2 separate regions of the Homo sapiens genome follow, and region 1 is linked to region 2. The links are contacts of gene promoters, found by promoter capture Hi-C in blood cells and fetal thymus (Javierre and others, 2016). All regions are on one chromosome and are shown on one strand. Each heading gives the region's core, a stretch centred on a gene start or on the middle of the fragment in contact. The rest is flanking DNA. Distances are from core to core; before and after follow the strand shown.

Region 1 (2,700 bases), core at 68-2,567, about 13 Mb after region 2:
CGCGGCCCGCAGACGAGCCTCCGACCCGGATTTCTGAAGGGAGGGTTGGACTGCGCTGCGTTCTGAGGGGTCCGGAAGTTCGGACATGGTGACTGAAGGAGGGTGACGTGGTCAGATAAGGGGCCGGGGGCAAAGGGAAGCGGCCAAGAGCTCCAGCGTCGCCAGTGGAGCCGGGAGGCGCGTGCAGCGCCAGCGGAGGAGGAGGATCCCGGAGCCCAAGGCAGGTAGTTGAGGGCCGCAGGGAGAGCAGTGGGTGGAGACCTGGTCTGCGGCCCCTGTTGAGGAGGCCTGGGCCCCGTGGGCCTTAGGGACGCCCGAAGGGTCTGGGAGAGGAGGCAACGCTCATAGAGAGGAGGTCTGGGACTCTCGGACGGAGACACAAGGACTCTGTCGCGGGCTCTGGCAGGGACGGGGAACGCGGGAAGCAGAGGAGACCGCGGCAGAAGCGGGGAGCTGGGCCTGCTTGGGCCTTATGGGGCTGCGGCGTGGGAGGGACTCTGGTGTCCGTTTATGGCCAGTTGCGAAGGCGACTCCCCTGGCTTGGTGCGGCCTGCTGGGCCATCCGTGTCCTAGGACCCCAACTCTGAGATCAGAACGCAGGAGCCTGCGCTCGAGAGGGGTCCCCTGGGACCCCAAGACGGGGAGGGCGTGTCTGACGACTCTGTCCCTAAACCCGGAGGGGAGGGGAGGGCAGTGTGAGGTGGTCTTCGAGAAAGATCCCCCTCCCGAAATGCCTAACTTTTCGCAGGATACGTCTTCCGCCCCGACTACTACTCCAGACTGCGAAGCTAAAAAACTGCACCACAGGTTTTACCCAATCCCCTCCCCCAGCATTTGCCTGTGGGGTTTTTTCTTACACATTCCCCTCTCCCAGGCGCGGCCCCTGGATCCCGGACACCCAGATCAGCTGCTTTTCACTGTTTTCCTTGCCCATGAAGCTCATCTTTGGGCTGGGTTTGCCTATACAGAAAGTTTCTTTGGCCGAATTTTTCTCTTTAATACTTCCCAGTCCTAAGCTAAATTCCACATACATTTTGTCTCTCACTCTCTGGAGGCCCTCACCGTGGAACTTTTGGCGCTCACATTTTTACGGGTCCCAGAGCCACTGGGCCTAACTTTGCCCAAGTTGTTTCCTCGTCCTCACTCTGCTTCCTAAAGCTATTCTTTCTGTTGTTGATTTTTCTCTCCAAAGCTTCTGCCCCAAACTGCATTAAAAATAAACAAACAAAAAGAAACAAAACTCCGGCCCAACCGGCCTTCACATCTGCGCCTTCACATCTCTCTCCTCTTCACCCTTCCACCAAACTGACCGTTTTGCTCCGGGTTTTCCTGTTTTGCCCTTGGCATCAGCCTAACTTCTGGGCCAAAACTGTCGCTCTAATCCCAGTCCCGTCAAACGAGCATTTCTCTCACCCGTCTCACCCCAATTAGGCTAAGCTTTGGGGTATCATCTTAACTTTTCCAAATTCTCATTACAGCCATCTGAATCAGTGACTTTCACACTTTACATGTCTCTTTATTTTTTCCAGCGGAATCACTAATTCAGACAAAATCTTACCCCTAGCGTGTATATCAGGTCTAAGAGCAGCCATGGCCAGACTGGGGTGAAGGTGCTAGGGCTCACAAGGAGGTTCCGACTGCACCTCCTCCCAGCAATTCTGGCCCCTCTAGCCCAGCCTCCGCGGCCCAAATTTCCCTCTCCAGCTTGGGTTCCTCAAGGCGGCGCTTTGGCCTAGCGCGCGGTGTGCTCCTCACCAGGTCTCTCCCCTCTCCCACCTTCTTTCCCGTCAGGTCCTGTCATGGAGCTGCGCTCGGAGCTGCCCAGCGTGCCCGGCGCGGCGACGGCGGCGGCGGCAACAGCGACGGGGCCGCCTGTGGCGTCGGTGGCGTCGGTGGCGGCAGCCGCGGCGGCCGCTGCATCGCTACCGGTGAGCGTGGCAGGCGGCTTGCTGCGGGGGCCGCCACTGTTGCTGCGGGCAGCCGAGAAGTACCCGCGGACCCCCAAGTGCGCGCGCTGTCGCAACCATGGCGTGGTGTCGGCCCTCAAGGGCCACAAACGCTACTGTCGCTGGAAGGACTGCCTGTGCGCCAAGTGCACGCTCATCGCGGAGCGCCAGCGTGTCATGGCGGCGCAGGTGGCGCTGCGCAGGCAGCAGGCGCAGGAGGAGAACGAGGCGCGCGAGCTGCAGCTGCTCTACGGCACTGCCGAGGGGCTGGCGCTGGCCGCCGCCAACGGCATCATCCCCCCGAGGCCCGCCTACGAGGTCTTCGGTTCAGTGTGCGCCGCCGACGGCGGGGGACCTGGAGCGGGAGCGCCCGCGGGGACCGGAGGCGGAGCAGCTGGCGCAGGGGGCTCAGGTGAGAGCGCGGCCAGGCCGCAGGTAGGGGCAGCAGGATCGTAGCTCTGGGGCACGGGGCCCAGGGGCTTGTCTCGGTTCAGAAAGAGTAGAACCCCCGTGTCCAGTCGCCGCGACTGCTAGGGTTCACCGCTCGCCCAGCCTCGGGTATGGAGCGTGGGTACAGAAACTCTCCTTTCTCCCGCTTCTGGAGCATTTGCACTTTACCCCTTTCTCCTGCATCGGGCCGAAATGTACACGCTTTAATTTTTTTACTCGCCTCTACCCAAACGCAGGCAGGTCCCTGCTTCTTTGCTTCGTCTTCTCCCCAGGTGGAAACCTGCGCATCTTCGTTCGCTCTGCG
Region 2 (2,700 bases), core at 24-2,523:
GAAGGTGGGAAAGGGCAGAGGTGGTACCCAAGGCCCCAACCCACCCAGATTACTTCCATTTCCCAAAGCGGGGGATTTTCAACTCTCTTACCCACCACTACCCCCTTGTATACCTCTCCGGATCTTTTCGGGGTGGAAAAAAAGAGGCTATTTTAATGTTCTTGTTTGGATTTGCATCTCAAAACTTCATTTATTTTCAAGATGTCTGCCACTCAGGGTCCACGCCAAGGCGTGCCTGTAAATGGCGAGAGACCAAAAGGAAAGGAGGAGAGAAAGAGGAAGAGAGAGAGGATGGTTTCGAATTTATTTATATTGGAAATATATAAACATCCATTCTGTAAAAGGCAACACGTTTAATTAACGATGAGAGAGCAGTTAGGGGCAGAAAGCTAGTAAAATTGTGTGATAAATTTATGGCATTGTTAGCGTGCTTTTAATTATGGCTATTATGTTAATTATTTCACATTAGCATGGAGTTATCAGCAGCATGTCGGATTTAATAAAAACGAGCCTTTCTCTCGAAAATTGTTCTTTTCATCCACGAGGAGAAAGGTCCTGGACAGGATCGGGGCTTAAAAATGACTTGGCATTGAAAGCCGGAGTCTTTCTGACACCGTTTGGAGCGATGCGGCCAGGCCCGGCTGTCCGCTGGGTCCCTCCAGGCTACCGGCAGCTCGAGGAGGAGCCCAGGGCTGGGTTTTTAGGAATTCACCATTTTCACCCCCTTCGGAGCCGACACTTCATCATGCGAGATCATTCTGTCAAACAATATGATGCTGCTCATTTTTATCTGTCCCGCTTTACAAAATCCCCATTCAGCCGGCCGAGGAGCAACAAAAGCCTCTGAGCAGCTCCGCAGCCACTGGCGGCCACAGCCTCCCCGGCGCGCGAGAAAGGCGAGAGGGGCCGAGGAAAGCAGGCGGCGGGCGCGCGCCCCTCTCCGCCGGAGGGAACGCTGCCTGCCGGGGCCTGCCAGCCCAGGTGTCGGGTCCTCGGGTGTGGCCCGGGCGGGACACGCCTCCCTCAGGCCCGCGCCCGCCCTCGGCCTCCCTGCAGGCGCCGGGCGAAAGCCCCCAATCCCTCCCCTCAAGCGACTCGCCCACCCAGGCCACATCGATTCTTTAATCACCGCCGATCGATTTATTGGGAGCAAATAAATAGACCGTTTTGGAAACGTTTCAATTGCTGGCTTGACGGTTGGGGCGCTGACGCGGGAGGGCGGGCAGGGCCGTGGGGCGCGCGCGGGAAGGGACTTGTGGGAAGGAAGGGAGCGGAAAGGCCGAGCGCCACCCGCCCCGGGAGTCTCCAGAGCAGCGCGCGGGGCAGACCTCCTCGGGTCCTCCGGCGCTTCGGTCTCCGGAGACGCCCGGCCTCCTGAAGGGTTCGGCTTGTCCTCCTCTGGCGCTCAGCTCCCTCTGGCGGCCGGGCTGGCAGGACCTCAGCGCCCAGCCCTTCCGTCTTGTTACGTCCAGGCAAGTTGGCCTGGCTTTCGGATGCCTCTGGACAGTCCCCGTCCAGGCCCGCGACCCAGCCCGAATGGAGGCCCCGGGGCCCACAGAGCGCGGCCTCCCAGGCCTTCCAGCCCTGGCTGCGGACGCCGCAGCCTTCTCGCCCCTGGGCCGGACGCGGCCTTCCTGCCCAAGACCACTGGGGCCCCCGCCCCTCCCGGGACAGGGCTGTGGACAGGCCAGCTGCTGCCTTATTTTTAGCGCCATTCCATTCGCGCGGTTATATTTAACTCGACCCACTCCTCCGAGGAGGTCGCTCGGACATCGAATTCTCCACATCGCAGCTTGGGCCTGCCCGCCTTGCCTCAGGGGTAGTTCCTCAAGGGACAGATTGGAAAACCCCTGCTTAAGAATCCTTGACATATCTGGAGCTTGGAGAGGACGGGACTGGGGGAGAGATCTGGTTCTAGGGGCAGTGGCCACCGCGCCTGCAGTGCACTGCGTGGGGATTCCGCCTTGTGTGGGGCGGGGGAGGGGAGGAAGGGACAGGATCAGTCCTGTGGGAAGGATTCTCTGCGGGGAGTATTGTGTCCATTTCCTACTTCTGCATGACTCAGAACACTAGGTGACCTGGAAGACCTCTCACGACCCTGCCCTTGGAAAAGTTTATCATTTAGCGTGAGTGCAGGAATCCCCTCTTCTCTACCCTCCAGTGCACCCAACGGGATATTTGATTTCAATGGTATGTTAGCTCCTTAGTTCCAGCCCAGTCTTCCCTTGGCAAAATCTTAAAAAGACCATGCCAAAGGCTCACTCACATCCTGGGGAAAGGACCCACTTGGATAACATACGGAAACACCATTGTGATACACGCTTTATTCACACAGAATGTCAGTTAGCAAACAATGCAGAAGTCATGTACTAAAGGTACACTAACAGATGTGACATGGATCGCGGATATCGAAACACATTTTTTTGTTTTTCTTTGAGACAGGGTCTCACTCTGTGTCTCAGGCTGGAGTACAGTGGTGCAATTGTAGATGGCTGCAGCCCTCGACCTCCTGGGCTCAAGTGATCCTCCTGCCTTAGCCTCTCGAGTAGCTGGGAGTACAGATGCACACCACCACACCCAGGTAATTTTTTATTTTTATTTTTTGTAGAGATGGGATCTCGCTCTGTTGCCCAGGCTAGTCTCAAGCTCTTGGCCTCAAACGATCCTCCCACCTCAGCCTCTCAAAGTGCTGGGATTAAA

Evidence for each region. The method cuts DNA at HindIII sites, captures the fragments that hold promoters and counts their contacts. A CHiCAGO score of 5 or more calls a contact.
Region 1: a contact is called between a fragment that was not itself captured here and the fragment with the promoter of LINC00466 in region 2, in 2 of 17 cell types (total B cells and naive B cells). The highest score is 16.4, in total B cells.

The regions. Positions count from the first base shown.
Region 1 is chr1:50,420,636-50,423,335 of GRCh38, reverse strand. DMRTA2 (DMRT like family A2) reads left to right here. Exons shown (of 3, transcript NM_032110.3): 1 at 1-220; 2 at 1,792-2,358. The coding sequence starts at 1,800. Among named protein-coding and RNA genes, the nearest start is that of DMRTA2, 1.5 kb to the left of the region's middle. RefSeq lists an enhancer at 1,598-2,097. The HindIII fragment of the contact is 245 bases long and covers 1,195-1,439 here.
Region 2 is chr1:63,315,830-63,318,529 of GRCh38, reverse strand. It overlaps LINC00466 (long intergenic non-protein coding RNA 466), which reads left to right and starts at 1,273. Exons shown (of 12, transcript NR_038252.3): 1 at 1,273-1,472; 2 at 2,443-2,581. RefSeq lists a silencer at 948-1,127. The HindIII fragment of the contact is 23,330 bases long and covers 1-2,700 here.